Regions from separate parts of the Homo sapiens genome. Here region 2 is linked to region 1. The links are contacts of gene promoters, found by promoter capture Hi-C in human tissues and cell types (Jung and others, 2019). All regions are on one chromosome and are shown on one strand. Each heading gives the region's core, a stretch centred on a gene start or on the middle of the fragment in contact. The rest is flanking DNA. Distances are from core to core; before and after follow the strand shown.

The links. The method cuts DNA at HindIII sites, captures the fragments that hold promoters and counts their contacts. A contact is called where the count stands out against the background at its distance.
Region 2: a fragment that was not itself captured here is called in contact with the fragment with the promoter of COMMD7 in region 1 in 2 of the 25 tissues and cell types used here (dorsolateral prefrontal cortex and mesenchymal stem cells).

The regions. Positions count from the first base shown.
Region 1 is chr20:32,739,883-32,746,179 of GRCh38, forward strand. COMMD7 (COMM domain containing 7) reads right to left here and starts at 3,585. Exons shown (of 9, transcript NM_053041.3): 1 at 3,426-3,585. The coding sequence starts at 3,509. RefSeq lists enhancers at 1,250-1,751, 2,421-3,248, 4,136-5,080 and silencers at 2,202-2,376, 3,361-3,430, 3,611-3,840. The HindIII fragment of the contact is 4,810 bases long and covers 2,669-6,297 here.
Region 2 is chr20:32,278,878-32,285,103 of GRCh38, forward strand. All of the region lies in intron 1 of KIF3B (kinesin family member 3B), which reads left to right. Among named protein-coding and RNA genes, the nearest start is that of KIF3B, 4.3 kb to the left of the region's middle. The HindIII fragment of the contact is 6,386 bases long and covers 773-6,226 here.

The DNA.
Region 1 (6,297 bases), core at 2,335-4,834:
ATGGTGGTGAACACCTGTAATCTCAGCTACTTGAGTGGCTGCAGCATGAGACTCACTTGAACCCTGTAGGCGGAGGTTTCAGTGAGCCGAGATCACATCCCCGCACTCTAGCCTGGGCAACAAAGCGAGACTGTCTTTAAAAAGAAAAGGGCTGGCCGGATGCGGTGGCTCACACCTGTAATCCCAAAACTTTGGGAGGCCGAGGTGGGCAGATCATGAAGTCAGGAGATCGAGACCATCCTGGCTAACACGGTGAAACCCCATCTCTATTAAAAATATAAAAAATCAGCCGGGCATGGTCGCAGGCAGCTGTAGTCCCAGCTACTTGGGAGGCTGAGGCAGGAAAATGGCGTGAACCCGGGAGGCGGAGCTTGCAGTGAGCCGAGATCACGCCACTGCACTCCAGCCTGGGCAACAGGGCCAGACACTGTCTCAAAAAAAAAAAGAAAAGGGCTAAACTACTTTAAGATGTGCCGTAAGTGTAAAACACCAGATTTAGAAAACTTTGTACCAAAAAGTAAAATGTCATTGATATTTGTATATGGGTAAGATATTGAAAAATATTTTGATATTGTGGATTTAAGCATGCATGGCATTTTGATCAATGATGGACCATATATAAAATGATGGTCCCATAACATTATAATGGAGGTAAAAGATCCCCTGTTACCTAGTGATTGTCACAGAAATCCGCGCCCAGCCATGTTTGTGTTTTAAGCTATGTGTTACTACAAAAGTGCCAAAAAGTTTAACAAAACCAGCCTGGGCAACATGGCAAAACTCTGTCTTTACAAAAAATACAAAAATTAGCCAGGTATGGTGGCGCGTGCCTATAGTCCCAGCTATTTGGGAGGCTGAGGTGGAAGGATTGCTTGAACCCAGGAGATCAAGGCTACAGTGAGCAATGGGTGACAGAGCGAGACCCTGCCTCAAAAAAAAAAAAAAAAGGTAAGCATTCATGAAGTAAAAAGTTACAGTTGGCAGGGTGCATGGCTTACGCCTGTAATCCCAGCACTTTGGGAGGTTGAGGCAGGCAGATCACTTGAGGTCAGGAGTTCGTGACCAGCCTGGCCAACATGGTGAAACGCTGTCTCTACTAAAAATACAAAAATTAGCCAGGCATGGTGGTGCACGCCTGTAGTCCCAGCTACTTGGGAGCCTGAGGCAAAAGAATCACTTGAGCCCAGGAGGTGAAGTTTGCAGTGAGCCAAGATCACGCCACTGCACTCCAGCCTGGGTGACAGAGGAAGACTCCGTCTAAAACAAACAAACAAACAAAAAAAAACTGACAGTAGGCTAAGGTCAACTTATCAAAAACAGAAAAAAAAAAATTTTTTTTTAGGGATGGGGGTCTCACTATGCTGCCCAGGCTGGAGTGCAATGGCTATTCACAGGTGGAATCACCATGCACTACAGCCTTGAAATCCTGGGCTCAAGTGATCCTCCTGTCTCAGCCTCCCAAGTAGCTGGGACTACTGTGGTAGCTGTGCCACCGTACCCAACTAGAAAGTTGTTTTTTTTTTTTTGAGATGAAGTCTCACTCTATTGCCCAGGCTGGAATGCAGTGGTGCAATCGCAGCTTACTGCAACCTCCACCTCTCAGGTTCAGGCGATTCTCCTGCCTTAGCCTCCAGAGTAGCCGGGACTACAAGTGCCCGCCACTACACCCAGCTAATTTTTGTATTTTTAGTAGAGACAGGGTTTCATCATGTTGGCCAGGATGGTCTCGATCTCCTGACCTTGTGATCCGCCCACCTTGGCCTCCCAAAGTCCTAGGGTAGGTGTGAGCCACCGTGCCCGGCCTATTTTTTATCTTTTATACTGTATTTGTACTGTACCTTTTCTATTTAGATTTGTCTAAACACACAAATATTTACCATTATAGTCCAGTTGCCTATGGTATTCAGTACAGTCACATGCTGTATAGGTTTGTAGCCTAGGAGCAATGCGCTATACCATATATCCTAGGGTGCAGTAGGTTTGTGTAAATAAACTCTAGGATGCTTGCATAAGATAAACTCAGGGCTGGGCACAGTGGCTCACGCCTGTAATCCCAACACTCTGGGAGGCTGAGGTGGGCAGATCACCTGAGGTCAGGTGTTCAAGACCAGCCTGGCCAACATGGTCAAACCCCATCTCTACTAAAAATACAAAAATTAGCTGGGCATGGTGGCGTGTGCCTGTAGTCCCAGTTACTCGGGAGACTGAGACAGAGAACTGGTTGAACCTGGGAGGCGGAGGTTGCAGTGACCCGAGATCGCGCCACTGCACTCCAGCCTGGGTGACAGAATGAGACTACGTCTCAAAAAAAAAAAATTAATTTCCATTTCTATTTAATTTTTAAATGTGGCTACTACAAAATGCAAAGTTAGAAATGTGGCTTGCAAATTTTTCTATTGCATAGCTCAAGCTTAGAACCTTCCTGTCGTTACAAGTTCTAAGTTTGGTTTTTATCTCGCAAGCAGCACTACTGTGTGGGAAGTTGTGGGGGGTATGGAGATGAAAGAAGAGGGGCGCTACCTCCTGGGAAGTGACAACCTAGCGGGGGAAATAGATGTATCTTCCCAGTGGGGGTGAGAAGTGTCATTCTCACCTATTTCAGCAGCCTTGGTGGTATGAAAAGGCATCCCAACCAGCACAGAAGCAGGATGCCTCCAAGACTGCCTTGGTTGGCACCTGCAGCCTGAAGGGGGAGAAAAAGGCTTTGCTAGCTCCCCTACCATCGAGGATGAAGACCCCCACTGTACACAGTGTATAAGGTTTCTTTCCATGTGAATCCCAGTGACTCTCCTTAACTGGGTGGAGGTGGAAGGTGTCATCAGCCTTGTCCCAGATCGAGCCCCTCAGGCCCACAGAGCCCCAGTGGGGCCTGGCTATTACTGACACTCATGTCACACTGAGATGTAAGACGGCAGCCCAGGCCAAGCTTCCCCGGGCCCCCTCAGATTCTCGGGCCCTCCCACTCCCCTCAGGCTTCCTCGGCCTCCCTGCCAAACATCTATCTCCCTTTGGACCCCACTGCTCCCCAAAACTCCCCACGCCCTTAGTCTGTTCCTTCAGTTCCCCAAACTCCTTCAGCCTCATCTAGACTCCCCTCCGTCCCTCTTCTAGGACCCCAAAAGCTCTCCTCGGCCCCAGGACCCCGCAGAGGTCCCGTAGTCCCATCTCTGAGACCCCACAAAGCCTTTCGGACCCCTCAGGTGGCCCTTAGGCCTCCGGAGATCCCTTGGCTCCCCACACTCTCCTCAGACCCCAGCTCACCTTAGCCTCGCCCCGAACCCACCTCACACACCCCAAACGCCCACAAGACGCCGCTCTGTCTAGTCTCTCCCAACTCCCGCGCACCCCCGGACGTCCCCCCCACCCCAGGCCCGGATCCTGGAATCACCTGGGCCCCGCGCCCCACGCCCCGCCGCCGGGCCCACCTGCGCGCCCAGCTGGTTCAGCTGCTGCATGTCGCCGCCCACGGCCTCCGGCACCGGGTCCTCAGTGCAGTGCAGGCGGCCCATGGCGCGCGCCCCAGCCCCGCAGGTTCCACCGCCGCCGCCGCCCTGCTCAGCTTCCTCCTCCGCTGCCGCTGCCACCGCTGCCGGCCTCTCCGCGCATCCACAACCGCACTTTCGCCACGGCCGTCGCAGCGCACTCCTCCCCCGGCCGCCCTGGGCTGTCCGGAGCCGGGGAGCCCTCGCAGGGCCGCGGACACGCGCGGCCGCCGGGCTCCGGGGAGGGGCAGGGGCGGCGCCGGCACCGGCAGACGCGAGGTTTCCTGCCAGCTCTCCCGCTGAGTGACCTTTGGGTACGGCGCTTGGCCTCTCTGAACCTCAGTTTCACCATCTGAGAAAATGATGGCTGGGGTAGCTCCTTAAATGAGTTAAGCCTCCAGAAATGTTTAACGCAGAGACCGGCACACAAGAGGTCTTCAATCAATGGCTAGCTGCTATTATCATCATCACTGTTACTATGCACTCCAGAGATATTTATGGCAGCCTACTCGATGCCAGACACTGGGGACAGGGAAGGGAACAAAGCAGGCCAGAGTGTCTCTCGGAGAGCTGACATCAGAGTAGAGACTAGGTCTCAACCTTGGAAGGGCATCAGCATCACCCCAGCATCACCTGGTATTGCCGGGCCCCGCCCCCAGAGGATCTGATTCGAAAGGCCAGGGTGGAGCCTGAGAATTTGCATTTCCAATAAGCACCCAGGGACTACACTTTGAGACCTTCTGGAGTGGAAGAAACTGACTTACCAAAGTTTCCTCAAAATAGTGCGAGGGCTTTGACTGTGCGGGGCAGGGAGGGTGGTGGTGAGGTGGGTGAGGGGAGGTTACTGAGACCGTGATCATCACTGCAGCCCCTCAAACACTCTAACCCCCATGCCCTCTCTTCCCAGGGGCTCCTCACAGTTCCCAGGTGAATATTACCCTAATCCCCACTGGAAACATGAGAAAATAGAGACATGCTACCCAGAATCTAGGAACTGAACGCCAAGCCTAAGGGCTTCACCTAGCCCCTAAGTCCAGCCTTGAGGGTAAAGAGGTAATGCCGAGAAACCTGGAGCAGGGAAATGTGGGGGGTTTGGCTGGCCTTCCTCACCAGCCCTCCTCCTCTCCTCTACCCTTTCCTGAAAATCCCTTCTGTAAAAGTATAAACAAAATGTCTTCTACCCGGCCCGGCGCGGTGGCTCACTCCTGTAATCCCAGCACTTTGGGAGGCTGAGGCGGGCGGATCACTTGAGGTCAGGAGTTTGAGACCAGCCTCAACATGGAGAAACTCCGTCTCTACTAAAAATACAAAATTAGCCGGGCGTAGTGGTGCATGTCTGTAATCTCAGCTACTCGGGAGGCTGAGGCAGGAGAATTCCCTGAACCCGGGAGGCATAGGTTGCGGTAAGCCGAGATCGCGCCATTGCACTCCAGCCTGGGCAACAAGAGCGAAACTCCGTCTCAAAGAAAAAACAAAAAAGTCTTCTACCCAAAGGCCAAGCCCATCCCCTTCAGTCATTATATCATTCATACATTCATTCAACAAATATTGAGTGGCACATGCCTGTGGTCCCAGCTACTCGGAGGCTGAGGCAAGAGGATCACTTGAGATCTTGAGATCGAGACTGCAGTGAACCCAGATGGCGCCACTGCACTCCAGCCTGGGCGACAGAGCAAGACCACATCTCCATAAAAAAAAAAGAAGGTCTGCTGTGAGGCAGATACCATGACATGATAGGGGGTGGGGATTCCACAGTGACACAACCAGATGAACCAGATGCAGTGCCTGGCCTCTGAGAAGTCAGAATTGACCCAGGGGGCAGACGCAAGTGTGTGTGAAAGTATTAAGGGATGCCAAAAAGTAGGAGGTGCTTTGAGAATGTGTACAGGACACAGTCCGAGTTTGGAGTACCTGGAAGAGAATAAACCTTCGGGTGACAAACAGACAGGAACTCAGAGGCCCTACTCACCGTGCAAGAATTTTTTTTTTTTTTTTTTTTGAGACAGATTCTGGCTCTGTCACCCAGGCTGGAGTGCAGTGGCACAATCTCGGCTCACTGCAATTTCTGCTTCCCGGGTTCTAGTGATTCTCCAGCCTCAGCCTCCCGAATAGCTGGGAATGCAGGTGGCCACCACCAAACCCAGCTAACTTTTGTCTTTTTTTTTTTTTTTTGGAAACGGAGTTTTGCTCTTTTTGTCCAGGCTGGAGTGCAATGGCGAGATCTCGGCTCACTGCAACCTCCGCCTCCCGGGTTCAAGTGATTCTCCTGTCTCAGCCTCCCAAGTAGCTGGGATTACAGGCATGTGCCACCACCCCGGCTAATTTTGTACTTTTAGTAGAGACGGGTTTCTCCATGTTGGTCAGGCTGGTCTTGAACTCCCCACCTCAGGTGATCCGCCTGCCTCGGCCTCCCAAAGTGCTGGGTTTACAGGCGCGAGCCACCGCACCTGGCCCAACTTTTGTCTTCTTACTAGAGATGGGTTTTCACCGCATTGGCCAGGCTGGTCTCATACTCCTGACCTCAAGTGATCCACCTGCGTCAGCCTCCCAAAGTGCTGGCATTACAGGCGTGAGCCACTGCACCTGGCCCGGAATTTTTATTTTTAAATATTTTTAACCTTGTTAAAAAAGAAGATCTGGGCTGGGCGCAGTGACGCATGCCTGTAATCCTAGCACTCTGGGAGGCTGAGGCCGGTGGATCACCTGAGGTCCGGAGTTCAAGACCAGCCTAGCCAACATAGTGAAACCCTGGTTCTACTAAAAATACAAAAATTAGCCGGGCATGGTGGTTCATGCCTGTAATCCCGGCTACTCT
Region 2 (6,226 bases), core at 2,716-5,215, 460 kb before region 1:
ACTGAGGTTCAGAAAAGTAAAGGGAAGGACCTGCTTAAGAATCCTTTTTTTTTTTTTTTTTTTTGAGACAGAGTCTTAGTCTGTTGCCCAGGCTGGAGTGCAGTGGCGCGATCTCAGCTCACTGCAACCTCCGCCTCGTGTGTTCAAGCGATTCTCCTGCCTCAGCCTCCCGAGTAGCTGGGACTACAGATGTTCACCACCTCGTCCACTAATTTTTGTAGTTTTAGTAGAGACAAGGTTTCACCATGTTGGCCTGGCTGGTCTCGAACTCCTGGCCTCAAGTGATATACCTGCCTCGGCCTCCCAAAGTGCTAGGATTACATGCGTGAGCCACCACACCCAGTCATTGCCTAAGAATCTTGTATCTATTAAGTGATGGAAGTGGACGTGTTTCTAGGTAAATCCTGTATTTTATCCCCCATTCACTGTTGCCTCTGATTTTGCAACAGTTGCTATTATAAGGCCACAGGGGTATTCTTTTGTTACTTTTAACTGGCTAGAAGTTAAAAGGCAAGGAAACAAGATCTCAGGTAAAGCTTTATTTAAATAGATACCACCCAAAGTGAGGATCTCAGAAAATAGTTGGAATCTTTTTTTTTTTTTTTGAGACGGAGTTTTGCTGTTGTTGCCCAGGCTGGAGTGCAATGGTGCCATCTCAGCTCACTGCAACCTCCGCCTCCCTGGTTCAAGCAGTTCTCCTGCCTCAGCCTCCCAAGTAGCTGGGATTACAGGCATGTGCCACCATGCCCGGCTAATTTTGTATTTTTAGTAGAGATGGGGTTTCTCCATGTTGGTCAGGCTGGTCTCAAACTCCCGACCTCAGGTGATCGCCTGCCTTGGCCTCCCAAAGGACTGGGATTACAGGCATGAGCCACTGTGCCCAGCCTGAGAGCTGGAATCTTTAAAAGAGGGCTTCTCTGTCCCTCATTCCCTCCTCATTAAAATGAGGGGACTAGGCTAGATTATACTGAAGGCCCTTTCAGTGCTGTTATGCAGTTGTGGTTAAAAGCTTGCAATCAGACTACCTGGACTAAAATCTTGGCTCTGCCACTTCCAAGCTGTGTGCTACTGAGCAAAGAGGTGCTACTTTACCTCTGAAATGATGCTCAGTACCTCTGAAATGATGAGAGGACTTTTTGGTAAGGGGCTCTGTGAGGAAGAATTATTCATAGTTCATTTTGAACCCCTTGGTGGTATAGTTTCCTCATCTGTAAAATGGGGATAGTAATAGGCCTTATTACCTGTGGCCTTATTATCATGTATGGCTGTTCTGAGGATTTATTTGAACTTAATATATGTGAAGTGCCCAGCATATTTGGTAAACATTAGCTATCGTTATTTGGGTTTAACGTGGTGCTTGTGCTGTATTTTCCGTGTATGGTTGGTGAAAGAATAAATTAAAGTATGTGATAATACCAGGTCCGTCAACCATAATGTCATTGCAAGCATGAAACAGTAGCCATCATGGCATTATATAAATGTTGATATTTTTATACAGTTGGCCCCAGGAACCTGTAATCATGTGCCACAATGGGTTGCAAAGAAAGGTAAAGCTGTCCAGGCATGGTGGCTCACGGCTGTAATCCCAGCACTTTGGGAGGCCAAGACGGGTGGATCACGAGGTCAGGAGATCGAGACCATCCTGGCTAGCACAGTGAAACCCCATCTCTACTAAAAGAAAAAAAAAATTAGCTGGGCATGGTGGCGGGCGCCTGTAGTCCCAGCTACTCGGGAGGCTGAGGCAGGAGAATGGCGTGAACCGGGGAGGTGGAACTTGCAGTGAGCCAAGATTGCGCCACTGCACTCCAGCCTGGGCGACAGAGCAAGACTCCGTCTCAAAAAAAAAAAAAAAAAAAAAAAAAAGAAAGAAAGATGAAAGCTGATGGTAGGACGTTAGGTTTAGTAGCTCAACATCCAATTCAGTAAATATTTGCTAAATCCCCTTATGCTAGGCACATGGAGGATGTGGAGGTCAATCCCATCTCCATATCCTTCGAGGAACTCAGAGCTTAATTTGCAAATTACTGCATTTGACATCTTTAAATGAATTCATATCTTATGTTTGCCTTGGCTGCAGAGTGAAGCCACTGATTCTAATCTGTTTTGTTGTGTCCCTAGACTTCTGTTAGGTGCCTGGATTAGAAACCTCAGATTGCTTCCTAAGCCTTTTCATCCATTAATTCGCAAGTCCCTGAGAAAGACCCCGTCTTATGTAACAGAGAGTAGCAATACTTGACAATAACAATAAGGTGCCTAATGGCTTACAAAAATGCCTACACTTGCTTACACATGCTTTTACTCATTTAATCTTATCTGTGTCCCTTCAAGGAAGGTAAGGTGCAGATTAGGATCTCTGTTTTATAGTCGAGGAATCTGAATGGAAGCCAAGAAGCCATGATGCTATTGAGTGGCCCATTTCACGTTGAAATCCAGTCTTCTGTCTTCAAATTCAGTGTACTTACCACTATCCTGCCCGGATTGTATTTATTCAGTATTTCCTGAGCACCTAGAATGTGTCAGTTCTGTTTTAGCCTGGAGATATCATGGTAGAAAGGTACAGAGTCCCTTGCTCTCATGCAGCTTATATTCTACTGGCAGCAAACAGAAAAATACAGCAGTAAATGAACAAGGGAATTTGGATGAGGAATAAGTGCTGGGGTGAAATCCCATCTCTATTAAAAATACAAAACTTAGCTGGGTGTGGTGGCACGTGCCTGTAGTCCCAGCTATTCAGGAGGCTGAGGCACAAGAATTGCTTGAACCTGGGAAGCAGAGGCTGCAGTAAGCCGAGGTTGCGCCATTGCACTCCAGCCTGGGCAACAGAGCGAGACTCCATCTCAAAAAGAAAAAAAACCCAACAAACAAAAAGAAAAAGAAAAGGCCTTGCTAGGATGGTGACGTTTTTGCTGAGATTTGCTCCCAGGGACGGGCCAGCCATTTGAAGACATGTCAGAAGGAAGAGCAAGGGTAAAGGCTGTGAGGTGGCAACAAGCTTGGTAAGTTCCAGAAACTGCAAGAAGGCTTACAATGGCAGGGACAGGTGAGTCAAAGGCAGAGTGGGGAGGTGGGTGGATGTAGGGGATGGAAGTGGTAGGGAGCGCTCAGATCATACAGGACCTTGTCTGCTAGAGTAATGAGTTGGGATTTTGTTCTAAAAGCTGTGGAAATCATTGGAGGTTCTGGAGAAGGGACGTGGCATGATCTATTTTTGTTTTTTAAAAAAATCACTCTGGCCTCTTTGTGGCAGTGAATTTTAGAGGGCATAGGAGTGGCAGCCAGGAGGCTAGTTAAGAGGTTAGGTGAGAGAAGATAGTGGCTTTCTAGGTTGGTGGCAGTGGAGATGGTAAGAGGACGGATTGGGGATGTGTTTCGGAGGTAGAACCAGCAGGATGGCGGGATGAGGGTGAGAGAATAAGGATGACTCCTGGGTTTTTGGCCTGAGCAATTAAGTAGATGTTAGAGATGCCATCTGCCTCTGAAATGATGAAAGGACTTTTTGGTAAGGGGCCCTATGAGGAAGAATTATTCATAGTTTATTTTGAACCCTGTAGAGGAGAGGCACAAGGTATAAGCATCATACTTTATAGTCTGTGGGGAGGAAATCCCAGATTATGCTGGCAGAAGCTAGCCAGGTGCAACTGATTGAAGCTTGACGTTCTTACTGTGAACCAAAAAAAAAAGTCCTGCTTTTCTACAGTCTGGCTTTTTGCCAGCCTGTGGAGCGGCAGGTGTGGGCTTTGCCAGGGCAGTACCCATCTGTCTTTCTGTCTTGTGCTGTTGGCATTGCAGTGCTGACTCGGGATCTTGGCTGAGGGAGCCTGGCCAGCTCTGGAAGAGGGAGCGGAATCACTAGTGAAGTTCACTTGGTGTGCCAAATGGCCACATTCTCCCTGCCAAAGTGGTTCTTTCCTGGTCACCAAATGACAGTTCTGAAGTTTCAGAGCTTTTGACTTCAGAATCCCTGGAAAACCTATTGTACTCTACCAGAATTCCTAGAGGATTCTTGAATCTCTTCTGAGCAAGGGAATTCGAGCTTCATTGTTATGTATTCCAGTAACTGTACTTGTAAATCTGGGCATTACAGGGTTGTACATTCAACATTGTGAATAGTAAAACTAATAGTCTTATCACTGCCACTTGTTTATTTAATTAAATTTAATAAATTTATTCATTTTGGAGACAGGGACTCCCTCTGTCACCCAGGTTGGAATGCAGTGGTGTGATCATGGCTCCCCCACAGCCTTGAACTCCTGGGCTCAAGTGATCCTTCTACCTCAGTCTCTTGAGTGGCTGGGACCGCAGGCATGTACTGTCGTGCCTGGCTAATTTAAAAAAAAATGTTTTGGGGACGGGTGTGGTGGCTTATGCCTGTAATCCCAGCACTTTGGGAGGCTGAGGTGTGCAGATCACGAGGTCAGGAGTTTGAGACCAGCCTGACCAACATGGTGAAACCCCTTCTTTACTAAGAATACAAAAATTAGCTGGGCGTGGTGGTGCGCACCTGTAATCCCAGCTACTCAGGAGGCTGAGGCAGGAGAATCGCTTGAACCCGGGAGGTGGTGGTTGCAGTGAGCTGAGATCGCACCACTGCACTCCAGCCTGGGCGACAGAGTGAGACTCCGTCTCAAAAAAAAAAAAAATTCTGTAGATGGCTAGGCATGGTGACTCACACCTGTAATCTCAGCACTTTGGGAGGCTGAGGCACGTGGATCACCTGAGATCAGGAGTTTAAGACCAGCCTGGCCAACATGGGGAAACCCCATCTCTACTGAAAATACAAAAATTAGTCGGGTGTGGTGGTGCATGCTTGTAGTCCCAGCTACTTCGGAGGCTGAGGCGGGAGAATCGCTTGAACCTAGGAAGCGGAGGTTGCAGTGAGCTGAGATTGTACCACTTCACTCCAGCCTGGGTGACAGAGTGAGACTCCATCTCAAAAAAAAGAAATTTGTAGAGACGGGTCTTACTGTATTGTCCAGGCGTCTTGGCCACAAGTGATCCACTCACCTTGGCCTCTCAAAGTGCTGGGATTACAGGCATGAGCCGCTAATTTTTTTAGAAAACTTGGTCTCACTCTGTTGCCCAGGCTGGAGTGCAGTGGTGCAGTCATAGCTCATTGTAACCTCCAACTCCTGGGCTCAAGCGATCCTCCCACGTCAGCCATCCAAGTAGCTGAGACTACAGGTGCATGCCACTACACCCAGCTAATTAAAAAAAAAAAATTTTTGTTTTTAATTTTTATTTTTTGTAGAGATGGGGTCTTGCTATGTTACAGGCTAGTCTCAAACTCCTGGCTTCAAGCAATCTTCCTGCCTCAGCCTCCCAAAGTGCTGGGATTACAGGCATGAGCCACAGCACCTGGCCACCACTGCTATTTGTATAACTTTGCAGTTTAGAACGCTCTTTCCTGTGCATTCTCATTTACTAATTGTCAATCAGTTGAGATCATCTGGACTACATATTATCCCTGGTTTACAAATGAAGACATTGTGGTGTGGAGAGGTCACTTGTTTTTGTCAGTAATATTGAGCATTTTCTAGGTGCTGAGTTAGGGAGATCCTTGCTGCTCAAAGTGTGTTCTCTGTGACAGATGTACCATGTCCCCAGGACCTTGTCAGAAATGCAGAATCTAGGCTGGGTGTAGTGGCTCACGCTTGTAATCCCAGCACTTTGGGAGGTCAAGGCAGGAGGATCACTGGAGGCCAGGAGTCCGAGACCAACCTGGGCAAAACAGTGAGACCTCCTCTGTATTTTTAAAAACAGAAGAAGAAGAAGAAAACAACAACAATAACAAGGCCCAGATCTAATAAATCAGAGCCTGCCTTTTACCAAGATCCCGGATGTTTCCTGTGCACATTAAAAGTTTGAGATGCTCTCACCTAGGTAATCAGTAGCAAAACTAAGACTTACCAATGATAATGACAATGAAGGTAATAGTCGTAGCTAAGATACATTAGCCAAGCACTGTTGTAAGCACTTTACACATGTTGTTTCATTTAGATTTAGACCTCACACCAATCCTGTAACACAGATTTCCAGAAGAGGAAAGTAGAGGCTCAGAAAAGTTCAGTAACTTCCTGACATCTGCTGACTCCAAGTCTATTGCTCTTTCTACCATTCATTCGCGTGTTCATCTGTTTTTCAGGTGGGCAGTGACCACATCTTAGCTGTCTTGTCAAAGGCCTTTCTCTTCCATACCTGCATAACTAATTTTAAATGATGACCAAAA